3 separate regions of the Homo sapiens genome follow, and all the other regions are linked to region 3. The links are contacts of gene promoters, found by promoter capture Hi-C in blood cells and fetal thymus (Javierre and others, 2016). All regions are on one chromosome and are shown on one strand. The core of a region is centred on a gene start or on the middle of the fragment in contact, and the rest is flanking DNA. Distances in the headings are between cores, read along the strand shown. Region 1 holds the start of MYOZ3 (myozenin 3). Region 2 overlaps NDST1 (N-deacetylase and N-sulfotransferase 1). Region 3 holds the start of GPX3 (glutathione peroxidase 3).

Region 1 (4,235 bases), core at 1,324-3,823, 360 kb after region 3:
GGAGTCTCACCATGTTGCCCCGGCTGGTCTCAAACTCCTGGGCTCAAGCAATTCTTCCACCTCAGCCTCCCAAAGTGCTGGGATTAAAGGCATCAGCCTCTGTGTCCAGCCCCTAAATTAATTTTTAAAATACCTGAAATCCTCTAAAGTAGACCAAATAAACAGATTCCAAAATTGTATCAAGAGTTCCTCAAGAGGTCTTCTAAAATTGATAAAAATGAATTTAAACTTTTTTAATGAAATGATAAAAATGATTTACTCATTTGATGAATCAGCTTTAAGTAGAAAGTTTTGTATTCAAATGGGCAGCCTGCTCTTCCCACCCTGCTCCACTCTCTCGACTCCCCTGTCTTCCCACCCTACTCCACTCTCTCCACTCCCCTCTCTTAGCCATGGGGCCCAGCCATCCTGGGCCACCCAGAGGCCTCGGTGAGACCCACAGGAGTAATAGGCAAAGGCAAGTGTGTGCAGAGCTTGCAGCCACAGGTAGGGCTGGAGTTGGGACCAGAGTCTTCAGAGCTTAATTTGGGGCTGAGGTGAGGCCTTAGATGAAGCCAGGGCCAGGGTCATTTTAGAGCCAAGGCCCAGCCTGGGACACTCAGCCTCAGCTCCTGGGTCTGTGGACAGATGGGCAAGACCCCTCCCAGTGCCTCAGGGAAGCTTCCCAGCCTAGGCAGCAAATTCTACAGGCACTCCCTCAGAGCTGGCCTGGAGCTCACACCTGTCTGCCCAGGCCTGGGGCCAGCAGGCCAGAGTGAGTGCAGCCTGGGAGCAAGGAAATGATGGAGTCTGAGGAAGGCATGAGGCTAGAACCACCTTACCTGGTTCAGTGAGGTCCCCCATGGCAGCCATCACTGGCCCCTTCTGCTCCTTGGGGATCATCCTGTGGAGGAGAGACCCCCATAAATGGACCAGGCTGCCTCCATTTCTCCCCAGACCTCCTTCCAGTCTCTGGTTCACCCTGCCCCAGTCCTGAACAGCTTTAGGCCAGCCCCAAATCACAAGCAAGGGATGTCTGAGCTGGAAGGGACTTCAGGGTCTCCGTGCAGAGGAGACTGAGGCCCAGGGAACGAGAGGGAGGTGCTCAAGTTTGCACGAATCTATTTTCATGTTGCTAGGGAAGCACTGTCTCTTCAGGGGTGGTTTCTAGGGCCTTTTCCCAGCTCTGGCATCCTGATCAGAGGGAGAGTAGGTGCCAGGGGCATCCGGGTGGGGCAGGCAAAGGTCTCAGGCACTACTGTCATCGGTTGACCCAGGAGAGTCCTAGTCCAAGGCTGAAAGAAGTTGGAGGTTTAAGTTAGGGGAAGGGGGAGGATGGACTAGGTTGGGGTTACACTGGGGTCTGCAAGGCTGGTGAGCCCCTTTCATCCTTGGCACTTGGCCCTGACGCTTGAGGGCACAGGCTGGTCCAACCAAGCAGAGAGAACCATCCCCCGTCCTCCCCATCTCCCCGCTACTGGGCTAACTTCCGTGGTGTTCTCTTCTCCCTCGTCCCTTCTCTTCCTCCTGTTCCATCCCCCTATTTGTATCTCATGGCACTTTCAAAGAATCTTGGAAGAGATTTGCAAATAAAATGAGGTCCAGAGCCCTTAACTTGCCCAGGTACCTTAACTTGCCCTCTGGAGAAGAGGCAGAGCCCTTGAGCTCCTCGACTGACCACCCACCTGGGTACCCTTCTCCTTTGCCTCCAGGTTTTCCTATACTCCTTCCTTTAGAAAACAATCTGCCTTCATCTGTATCCCCAACACCGACAAGGGGCCCTGGGAGTCAGTGGGCACTGCATTGTGCAACTGGAGTCTAGTGGGTGTCCCTGGCTTTCTCTGTAACTGCGAACAAGTAGCTTTCCAGCTCTGCACCTCAGTTCCCCCATCTGTAACAGTAGGGGGTTAGGCTAAATCACAGAGATCCATGGATGGGCTTTAGGGTGTTCACAAACCCCCTAAAACTATACGTAAACATGAGTGTGTCTACATGCATTTGGGGTGAGGGTCATGGGATGATTGAGAATGCCTCGATCACAACCGTTTAGGATTCCACAGTCCACAGATCTGTTTCTTGATAAACACTCCCTTTACAGAAATTCACAGATGCTGGGAAGGGTCTCTCATTTTACAGAGAAGCTGCTTCCCTCTACTGCCTAAAAATCCCAAAGTCCTGAGCAGAGCCATTACCTATTCCCCACCTTTAATCCTAGCCACACCCTCCCCATTTAATGCAGGGTAACCTAGAGCTTAGAGTTCCTCTCCTCCCAAACCAGGATCGAGGCTTGCATGGGGCCCCAAACTCCCTAGATCCACTGCAGGGCCCTTCCTCTCCGGGGGAAGGAGCTCTGGGGATTGGCTCACCTCCTCTGCCCACTCCCCTGAGTTCCCCAAGCTCCCCTAGGATGCTGGTACCTGAGAGGATGGGACCACAATAGGCAGGAGGGAATCTTAGACCCTCAAGATTAACACCTCTGTCGGGAAGCTGAGAGTTGCGTGGCGTCCCTGTAGGCAGTCAGCGGTCAGCAGTCAGTAGGCAGCGAGCAGGGTGTCCCCTGCAGCCAGCTCTGGCTTCAGCTGATGAGAATCATTCCTGCCTTGCCATGGGTCACAGCCTTATTTCGGGCTGCAATAGGAGCTGGAGCCAGAGGCTAAAAGCACCAGACCCTAGGGAAGACAGGTGCCCTGGCAACAGGCCTGTGCAGACAGAGGGCTTGCACCCACGTGTACACACACACTCACATATGCACACACCAAAGTCACCTGGAAATGTTGAGGGTCAGCTGCTGGTAGCTTCCGCTTGTTAACTGTTATATCCTTAGTGCCAAGAATGGTGCTTGATAGGAACTCAGCAGATATTTGTCGAAGGAAGGAATGGATGGATAGATAGATGGATGAATGAATTGCTCCTCAATATCTTTGCTTGACTTATCCTTTTCTTCCTTCCTTTCTTCTCTCCTGCCTTTCTTCTTCTGCCTCCTTCCTGCCTGCCTTCTTTTCTCCCCTCCTCCCTCCCTCCCTCCCTCCCTCTACCTTCTCACATTCCCTGAGCCTCTCTCTAAGGACTGAAAATAAATAAGGCAGGGCTCTGTCTTCAAGGAGCTCAGCCAGGTCAGATTCAGACGGGTAAACAAGCTTTGGGGAAGGCTCTGGGAGAGCCCAGGGGAGGGAGTTACCAGCTCAGCCTGGGGTGGGGGGTGAGAAGGCTTCCCAGAGGAGGACACACTGGAGTTGGGCCTTGAAGGATGAGTGGGAGTTCACTGGGCAGAGAAGGGGCATGGCAGGCAGTGGACATGTCACCTACAAAGATGGGTAGGGGGTTGGCAAGTAGAGCCGGAGCTGGGGGCAGTGCTGAGAGATTAGCCCAGACAGTGGGGGCAGCGGCCAGATCCCAGCAGGCTTTCAAAAGGAAACTGTGTTTATAAAGGGTTGCTGACAAGATTAAAGTGGTGAAATGGAGTGATCGGATTGGCATTTTCCAAAGATATCTTTGCTGCCATGTGGGAAATGGGTTGGAGGGGGCCAGACTGGAGGCAGGAGGACCTGACTGTCACCAGGGGTGGCTGGATCAGGGCAGTGACAAGGAGATGGAGAGGAGAGGGAGTTGAGGGTTATTTGAAGAACCCTTGGGTCTTGGTGAGGAACTGGATGTGGAAGGTGAGGAAAGGGAGTCCCACTCCCCTGTTTCATGCTTGGGTGACTGGAAGGGGAGGAGCAGGAGGGGTGGGGGCAGACACTGAGGTCAGTTTTGGATGAACTTTGAGGTGTCGGGGGACTGGGATGAGATCACCAGTAGGCAATGGGACACTGTGCTGCAGTGAGGCCCCAGCCGAAGATAAAGATTGGGTCCAAGGCACACACTCCTGGGGAAGGGTGGGCCTAGCAAGGATGGGCTGGGTGCAGGGTGGGGACCACCGGTGTCTGTGTGCTGGCAGACTATCCTGGGGTGTATTTCTGACACCTCTCAAATCAGAAGCCTAGATTCTGCTGTCCACCACCCTGACCTTAGCTTCCTGGCCCTCGGTGGGCCTGAGCTTCTAGAGAGGAAGAGTGAGGTGTGTTCCCAGGGCAAGCTTAGCCTCACCTGGGAGCAGGATCACAATCCCCTTCTCTGGCCAAAGGACACTCCTGCCAGGAGAGGATGCCTCATGGCCCGAGTCCTTGCCTCACTGGGGCTGCCTGGCTCAGACGGGACCTCTTACAGTGGCGCCTTTCCTGCCCTGGCACCCCCACCTGCCATGAGGAAACAGCCTC
Region 2 (4,630 bases), core at 847-3,346, 470 kb after region 3:
CAGGCTTGCAGAAGGGTCCAGGCAAAAATCCAGAAGATCTCTGCTGTCACAGGATTTCCAACCGCCTGCTCCTTCCCATAGCCAGAGGCAGAGAGAAGTGGAGCTCCTGCCCTAGGCCAGCCCACCTCTCCTGCCTTCCATGCTCTGCGAGAGAGGCCTCCAGGCCTAGAGGGTAGATTTCCGAACCTGGGAGCTGTAAGATCCTCACCCATCCCGCAGCCCAGTCCCCTCACTGACGGATGGGACTCTGGAAGTCACTGCCCCTCTCTATAAGCCCCTGGCTCCATGGCGTGGGCATGTCTTCATGAGCACACAAGCAGACATGCCACCCTGTCCTCAGACCCTTTGCTGCTCATCCTGCTGGCCCAACGATGCCCAAGTTCCCAGGCTTGCAGGCCCCATTGAGAGGCATGATGGGGACACTGCTGTGTACACAGTGAAACCACCTGCAGCTGGTCCCACTGAGTGTCCAACTTTCTTCATCCCAGCAGAGAACTGGAGAAAAGGGAATCAGCTCAGAACAGACCCAGGCCCCCACAGGCTGGGGAAGGACCCCTCGAGGGAGAACACGACAGGGATGCAAACGCAGACCTCGGAATGAGAAGGCTCAAAGGCACCCTGGCTGGGAAGGAGTGGTTTGTCCCCATATCCTGGAATGACCATGCTGTGACGGAGGAAGGGACAGGAACCTGGCACAGAGTAGGGTCCCAAGGATGGGCTCAGAGGCAGTGTGGCATTGGAAGAGGAGCACGATGGGACTTGGAACCGGGAGCCTCGGGTTCAACGCTCAGCCCTGCTCCCAGCTGGCTCCATGACGTCGGCCAAGCAGGCCACCTCCCCTTTCTGGACCTGTTTCATACCCGTCAAAGGACCTTCCAGCCCCAAGATGCTAGAGTCTTCTGAACAAGACAAGCCTCTCCAGAAAGTATTTCCTGGGGTTCAGAGGGAAGCAGAATTTGGCAGTTGGAGGGGGCCAGGGAGAGGCACCCCAGCCTCAGTCACTTCACATTGTTAAATGGGGTGGGGTAGGAGCAGACCCCAACCAGAAATCAGCCCAGAGATCCCACTGTCTACAAGGGCCTGGAGACAGTTCTGTGGGCCTTGGTGGGCATCCCAGCTCTCAGGGCAGCTCCCAGCCTAGCACCATGTGAGGGAGAGTGGGTGGGGCAGCTTTTGACCCCAGCTCTCCTAGCCCAGCCCTGGCTGTTTCCTTTGGCCAAAATCCCCTCAGGGTCACTGGACTTCACGCAGCCCGATGTCCTGGAGAGAGCTGGTCTTCCCTGCGCATCTCACCACCTCTGTTCACCTGGGGTAGCCCCAGAGCAGCCACGGCACTGGGGAGGGCCCCTTCCTAAGGTCTGCTCAGCCCCAGGCCACTGAGGACACAGCCTCCCTCCCTGCCACCTCATCTCTAGCTCTAAGACAGGGTGACCCCTGAGACTGGGGCTTACCACCATTTTGTAGGACTGAATTAAAAACGAACCCAACCAAAAAAAATAGAATATATATATATACACATTATATATATATATATATATATATAACACAGTGCGACCCCAGCACCCAGGGTATAAACTCTGGCACCAAGAAAAAAAAAAACAAAATATTAAAATATTTTAGCTTCTTAGTATTTGGGAGGTTAAGGGGGTCTCTGAGAGCCCTCGGCCACAGGTGGCTAAGCAAAGCCGTGGCTGGCAGTCTCACCAGCTCGCCCATGTCTGCCTGGGCCTGAGGCTGGGAGGGTGTGGGGACCGTGTCTGTACATGGGAACATGTTACTGGCAGACCCCTGGCCTGCCTCAGTCTTTTACCACAGGAAACACCACACATCATATCCCAGGGGGAAGAAAGGGGTGCAGGTGGGGCCCGGAGAACTGGGCCCGATGGCAAGGCAGTGCCCCAAGGCCCTGCGGGAAGCCTTGAGGATGGAGTGGATACTGTAGGAACCAGAAATTCTTCCCCAGAACGGGAGGGTGAGATGTGAAGGTAGGAACCAGATGTGGAGGCTGGGAGTCCTCTTGAGGGGGCCACCCTCCCATCCAGCCTAGGACTGACTCCGGGGACCCAGCTGGCCCCTTGGAAGAGCCTGGCTCGAAACAGGGAAATGTCCAGTCTGTCTCCCCCGGCCAGGCTCTCCTCCCCTACAGCCTGGAGGACAGGGACATATGGCAGCGAATACTGAGGGGCGCCCTGCGGAAGCAGGGAGTGATGGGTGACGAGAGGGGACAGTCGGCGGAACACAGTGAGGGACAGAAAAGAGTCTCGTGGACTCCCTCCTACCAGGAAGCGGCCTCCCCAGGAGCAGCTGGGAACGGAATGGACCTCTGCTGGCGAGGGAGGTCCCTTAGGCCGCAGACCCAGCGGTGGGTGCTCCGAGGTGCTTGCAGATCCGCCTGGGTGCTCCCCCAGCCCCACCAGACCTCCACAGAGTATTGCTCATAAGTGCGCAGCTGCCCTGGTCCAGCTTCCCACTCTGCAGGTCTGGCTCAGCGTGTGGTGGGATGTCCCAGCTTTCACAAACGTTCAGTCTGGCTGTGGTGGCCACGGCTACCTGGTGTTCTGGAGGTCCTCTCGTAGCCAAGTGGGAAGTGTCTGGCCCATCTTATACAGCAGCTTGGAGAGCTCGATGTTGTGGTCCCGGTAATAGTCCTTCAGGAAGGCTCGGGACTGTAACGGGAAGGAAAGCTCAGACCTTGTGTACTGACTTAAGAGTGACCTCCTCTAAAAATCGCCATGCTCGGCCGGGCACGGTGGCTCATGCCTGTAATCCCAGCACTTTGGGAGGCCGAGGCATGTGGATCACCTGAGGTCAGGAGTTCAAGACCAGCCTGGCCAACATGGGAAAACCCTACTAAAAATACAAAAATTAGCGGGGTGAGGTGGTGGGCGCCAGTAATCCCAGCTACTCGGGAGTCTGAGGCAAGAGAATCTTTTGAACCCGGAAAGCGGAGGTTGCAGTGAGCCAAGATCACGCGATTGCACTCCAGCCTGGGTGACAAAAGCGAAACTCCGTCTCAAAAGAAAACAAAAAAACAAAAAACCCACCATGCTGCTGGCACCACCCCCCATACACCTCTTATTTATCCACAATCTCCTTCTAAATGGTAGCCTCCAATAGTGAACTCCCAGTTGGCAGGAGCATCAAAATATAGCTCACTAAGTCAAAATTCTTCTGATAGGGAGAGGAGAGAGAATTAATAATCAAAACCCAAGGCGGGCAGGGCCAGGGCCAGGCACGGTGGTTCACACCTATAATACCAGCACTATGGCAGGCTGAGGCGGGAAGATCGATTGAGCCCAGGGGGTCGAGGCTACTGTGAGCCATGATCATGCCACTGCACTCCAGCCTAGGCAACAGAACGAGACCCTGTCTCAAAAACAAAACAAAACAAAACAAAACAAAAACAGAAGCAAGTAGGAAAAGGAGGAAGTAACAAGACCCCCAGTCTGTGACCCTTTTTCTATATATTTTTAAAATTTCTTTTTTCCCCCTATGGTTTTACACATGCTGTTCTTACCTACCCTCCCATTCCATATGTCCAAATCCTACAAAATGGATCTCATCCTTCTAGGCGCAACTCCAGAGACCCCCATCCCTCCTTTAAGGAGCCTTTTTTACCCCTCTCAGGTTCAAGTGACATCCCCTTGTTCTGAATTCCCATAGCACTTGTGTGCCCTCTCTGACTGCGCGCAGCACTCTCTGCCTGTATTCTACTTAGTGGTGTTGGGACTCATACCCCTCCAAGACCAGGAGTTCCTTGAAGGCAGAGAACATGTCTGGCTCATCCTCAAAACCCCACAGCACTCAGCCCTTAGTAGAAGGTAACCAACACTTGTTTGACGAAATCAGGTCTGACCCACCATGTCCCAGCCCCCATTTTCCTCCTCTTACAAATACTGTCCAAGAAATGCTAAGGCCATGAACATGCTGAGTGCATGGTAAAGGAAAGAGAATCCCCCTCAACTCCATACAGGGACCCCTTACCCTTATGCAGGTGCTACAGGTAGTGTGTCCACCACTTACATCCAAGTCCATCTCGGGATATTTCCGGCCCTTGCTTTTGCCCAGACACTTGGTTTTTCCTCCTTCAAGCAGTTGGCACCAAAATCCTTTCTTTGGATCAAACCTGTGGAGGTGGGAAAGTCTTTGGATGGGAGCTGGCTCAGCCACCCACTTCCGACCTTAAAGCCATGTTCATGGACCCCAGGAATGGCAGAGACCAGGGAATCTACTGCTCTTGAACCCACATGGACTGTCAGAAGCTATGTGCCATCTGTGGGATCAAATGTGTCCTAGGCTGCACTAAACGTGCCTGTCCTACTTCCGGCAAAGGGCAGCTCGCACATTCTGAGTCTTCTCTCCTCCAGCCCGACCAGCCACAGCCGCTTCAGCAATCTACAACATGAACAGTTTCCCATCCTTCAGTGTTCTGGGAAATCTTTTCTGAGCATTCTCAATGCTGAGTAACTCTTTTTTTTTTTTAAACCCAAGAAGCCTTCTTTACCCCTCCCAGCGTCAATGGGAAGAGGGGTGTTTAGTGGAGGTTCTTTTGCTTTTTAATAAATTTCATCTTTATCAAAACATGCAGTATCCACAGCTGCACTTAAGCATGCCTGTCACTGGAGAATTT
Region 3 (4,252 bases), core at 1,283-3,782:
AGCCGGGCAAGAGAAGAGGGTTCCAATGGCTTGAGAGTTGGATGATGGGACTCAGCCAGGACTCTGGCTGGCTGGGGCTGCTGGTCTTGTGTCTTTCTCCTCTCCCGTCTTATTACTCCTATCAATATGATGCTGTGAGAAGTGGTCTGGGAGTCAGGAGACCTGAGTGCTGGGCTTTGCTGTGTCTCTGATGCCATGTGACCCCCTTTGCTGGGGCTCCAGCTCCTCCATTGTAAGATGGAGTCAGGTTCAGGGCTGTCTTAAGGGCCCTTTAACTCTGTCAGCCTGTGGTTCCATGATTCTCTCTGCCAGGTTTAGTCACCTAGAAACCAGCAGTTACTAGGATCCCGTGCACGTCAGCAGTTGTCACTCTTTCCGGCTTCTGCAGTCCTTTTGTAGAGACAAGGAGCGTGGGCAGCCTGAAGTTGGACTGGGGAGGTGACGCAGCAAGAAGAGGAGGACCTGGTCTCTTCCCTAGCATCTCCCTTTCAATTGGTAGGAGGAAAACACCTCTCTGGGGCTGAGTCACCTTTCGTCCATTCCATTCTCCACATGCCCCATAACCCTATCTCTTTACCCTGGGGTTGGGGGTAAGGTGAGTGGTTGGGTCCTAACCCAGAGCTAAGACATCTGAACTCTAAGAACTTGGGAGCAGAGATGGGCATGCCCAGGCTTTCATTAGCCAGCAAGTCCTGACTGGTTGTATGTGATATGATCACACCTCACCCTAAAACTTTTCTAGACCATCCCCATCCTATTCTCTCTGAGTCCATTTATCCTTCCCCAGAGTGCTGCAGAGAAGACACAGCTATGATGAGTTATTCATGGAGTCCACGTTCTCCCCACTAGCCTTCTTGAGGCAGGGCCCAATTGTATCTTCTTTGACCTTTCCAAAACTGAAGGTTGGGACTGACTCCACGGTGCTGGCCTGTCTATGGCCCACCCCAAACCTCAATGTTGAAAATCGATCCCATTCCTGACCTGGAAAATGCCTTCTGAGTTGGGGATTATGAACAGGGATGGATAAAAAGGAGGGGACTTGGACGAAGTGGCTTCACATCCATTTAGACTGACTCCAAGGAGAGGCTGATTAATCGGATTTAGGCTGAGGACCGAAAAGGGGTGAGTAACATGGAAGGAACCCTGTGCTTCCAATGGGCTTCCTGAGAAGTGGACAGAATTTTGGAAACGGAATCCTAGACTCATAAGAACTTAATTAAAGTGAAGACCCAGAGGATTTTAGAAACAAAAGCTCAGAGCTTGCAAAAATGTGAGTTATGCATGTTGGGAAGTTGGAGACAGAAATCGCTCGCTTTGAGTCTATCCCTACACCTGGCTTCTGCCTCCTTCCCCACCCACTCCCACTCCCTGGGTAGAGGAGAGGTCTACAGAGCCCACCCCAGTACATACTGTCAAAGGAGATAAGCATGCTGGGTCATCCCACTCCTGGCCTCAGTATCCCCACTCCAGGTGTGGGCCACACACCTGCTGGAAATAGACTGAGGCTCTAGAGAATTCTACCTCTTCTTCTGAATTAGCAGTCCCCAGCTTTCTCCAACTACCAGGTTTCCTCAGGCTAATGAGGACAGTGGGTCCTGGGTAGTGAGGCTGCCCCAGGGGAGGAAATTTCAGAGAACAGCTTGTGGATTTTTCAGCTTCTCCAAGCATCCCCTCTGAGGCCCTCAGCTTCATTGTGCCCCATGCACTCCCACCCCCAAACTCTCCCCTGCAGATGGAGAAACGGGGGTCCAGGAGCAGGTAAGGACTCAGGGTCCTGAGTGTTCTGCACTGTCACTCCAGAGCTCTTTCTAGCACAGATCTCTGCCTCTTCTACCAATGCCCTGAATCCAAGTGGCCATTTCTACCTGCCTGTATCATTCTTGGGGTAGAAGAGCCCCCCACAGCAGTTCTTCAGGACCAGGACCACCCAGCTGCCTCTCTCCTTTCTCCTTGTCTCTCTCCCTGGGAACTTGCACAGCCCACCCAGACGCTGGGCATTTTTTTCTGTGACGCCCTCCCTCTTAGGCCCTACTGAAGGGGAGCAGCTCAGGCACGGAGGTGACATAGATGTAGCAAGGCGACCCTCGAGGTGGCAGTGGGGAGAAAGTGCGAGCTCGGGGAGAGAGACCTTCCTCCCTTAGTCATTCTGCCCGCCTGAAGCACCAGGTCTCGGCTCTCCAACAGATGGAACTACGAGACGACGACGGTCGGGGGCGGGGTCCCGGCGGCGGAGGGGGCGGCAAAAGGGGTTCAGGAGGTCTCTCGCACCTGGGGATTGCCCATCTGGCGGGGAGCCTGGGAAAAGGGGTGCATTGCACTGAGCGCTGGACACCGAGGGGCTAGGTTTTTTCTCCCGGCCCCCGGCCCGGAGGCTCACTCACCTTCGACTTCTCTTGTCCCCGGCTCTGCGAGACGAAGCCGGCCAGGAGCAGGGAAAGCAGGCAGGACGCCTGCAGCAGCCGGGCCATGGCGGGGTGGGGGCACACTCAGGGTCGCCTGAGCCGCTGCCTGATCCCTGGCCACCGTCCGTCTGAGGTGTCCGGCGCTCCCAGCCACCTTTCAAGCCCTCGGGTGTGACCAATCCGCGGCCAAGCCGAGACCCTTGCAGCCAATCGCTAGGCGGCTGGGATTTCAGGGGCGGGCGCGACTTGCCCTCAGCTCCCCACCTCCCCGTCCCGGGGCGACAGTGACATAAGCAAATCTGGGCAGAGAGGTGGAAGTCAGGTCCCTGTGGACGTGGGAGGCGGTCCCTTCCTCTTTTGGCTCCAAAGTGCGAAAGGAGGCAGACACAGCGGTCTCCATTACAGCCAGGGCAAGGGGGCTAATAGCTCCCTAGAACTGATGGAAGTCTCCATTCTGGGAAGCATTTCTTATTCCTATCGAGGTTTTAAAAACACCTGGCGATGGTCCTCTGGAAATTGAGGGTTTAAAATTTCAGCAAGAGCTGAAGTTAAACTTCCAGAAACATTTACTATATATAGGTTTAGTGCTTAAGAAACAAAGAGTGGGTGTCCTGGGATTTTGAAAACCCCATTCTGGGTAGGGCATTAGGACTGTAGGGACAGAGAAGGTGGGGTGCCTTTCCTCCCCATCATAAGGATCACAGCTGACATGCCTGTAGAAAAAGGTTAGCAAGAGAAAAGCATAACGATTTATTTAATTAAAGTTTTCTGTGACATGAGAGTCTTCAGAAATGAAGACCCAAAGACTCAAGGAAAACTCTATTTTTAGGCTTAGATTCTATGAAGACCATGGAAATGCGCAGAAATGTGAGTGGGGAAAAAGGGAATGGTCTAATAGTAATAAACTGAGTGGGAAACCCAGCAAGGCTTGTCTGTTCGTATTCTTCTTGGCCTATCTGTGGCCAAACCACCTGGCTTAGAAGCAGAAAATAAATTTGCTCCCTGTGTAGTCTTTAACATGTTGCAGTTACTCTCTGGGCCTCAGTTTCCTCAGCTATGTAATGATGGGATTGATTAGTGATCTCCAGTGCCCTTCTGGCTCTGGCTAGATGACTTGTTTCTAAAGTAAGTGACAGACGGAGACCAGGAGTCCTTTGAGAATAGGGCCCATAATCACCACCTGGCACAGGGCCTAGCACACAAGAGATGTAAAGTATTTGCTGACTTAATCATTCATTACATTAAAAAAACAAAATCTCCATGGAACACTTAGGATCAGACCAGGCAGTTCTAGGGCTGGGCTGTCTAGGTATGATCCCGTTCACAGATGGGGAATGTGATGGAATCAGTCTCAAATCTCTCTGACCACCAGAGTCAACTGGGAAGCCTTTAATACAGATTCCTGGACCCCACTTTGGAATCACTGCATTAGAATCTCTAGGGGCAGAAGCTGAAAATCTGTCTTCAGACATGTTCTAAGGTTATTGTGAGGCAGTTGGCCTGGCTGTAGCCTTGGTAGTGTGAGTCCTAGGATTAAGTGCCTTCTGGAACTTTCTTCTGACCAAGAAATGCCTTGAGAAACCATACCTTTACTATGATTAAAGGTATTAACATCCCCCTGGGAATTTGGAAGATGTCTCTCAAGTTTTGCATTCTCTACGAAGTCTTCCCACCTCAAACCACAGCCTGTTGAAGTGGAAGGAACCACAGAGGCCAGGAAGTCTTTAGCTGAGTTAAAGCCTGGGAGCATATGAACAATGGCTGACACACAGTAAGTGCTCAATACGTTTTATTCAACCACCTCATTTCCCTGAAGCCTAGAGATGAGGAGCAATTTATCCAAGTTCCCA

Evidence for each region. The method cuts DNA at HindIII sites, captures the fragments that hold promoters and counts their contacts. A CHiCAGO score of 5 or more calls a contact.
Region 1: a contact is called between the fragment with the promoter of MYOZ3 here and the fragment with the promoter of GPX3 in region 3, in 1 of 17 cell types (naive CD8 T cells). The highest score is 5.9, in naive CD8 T cells.
Region 2: a fragment that was not itself captured here is called in contact with the fragment with the promoter of GPX3 in region 3 in 1 of 17 cell types (total CD8 T cells); the score reaches 6.2 in total CD8 T cells.

What each region holds. Positions count from the first base shown.
Region 1 is chr5:150,659,589-150,663,823 of GRCh38, reverse strand. MYOZ3 (myozenin 3) reads right to left here and starts at 2,573. Exons shown (of 7, transcript NM_001122853.3): 1 at 2,397-2,573; 2 at 822-883. The coding sequence starts at 882. The HindIII fragment of the contact is 2,456 bases long and covers 663-3,118 here.
Region 2 is chr5:150,551,249-150,555,878 of GRCh38, reverse strand. NDST1 (N-deacetylase and N-sulfotransferase 1) reads right to left here. Exons shown (of 15, transcript NM_001543.5): 14 at 4,024-4,126; 15 at 1-2,666. The coding sequence ends at 2,547. Among named protein-coding and RNA genes, the nearest start is that of NDST1, 45 kb to the right of the region's middle. The HindIII fragment of the contact is 5,776 bases long and covers 1-4,630 here.
Region 3 is chr5:151,018,871-151,023,122 of GRCh38, reverse strand. GPX3 (glutathione peroxidase 3) reads right to left here and starts at 2,532. Exons shown (of 5, transcript NM_002084.5): 1 at 2,382-2,532. The coding sequence starts at 2,468. RefSeq lists an enhancer at 1-1,087. The HindIII fragment of the contact is 15,890 bases long and covers 1-4,252 here.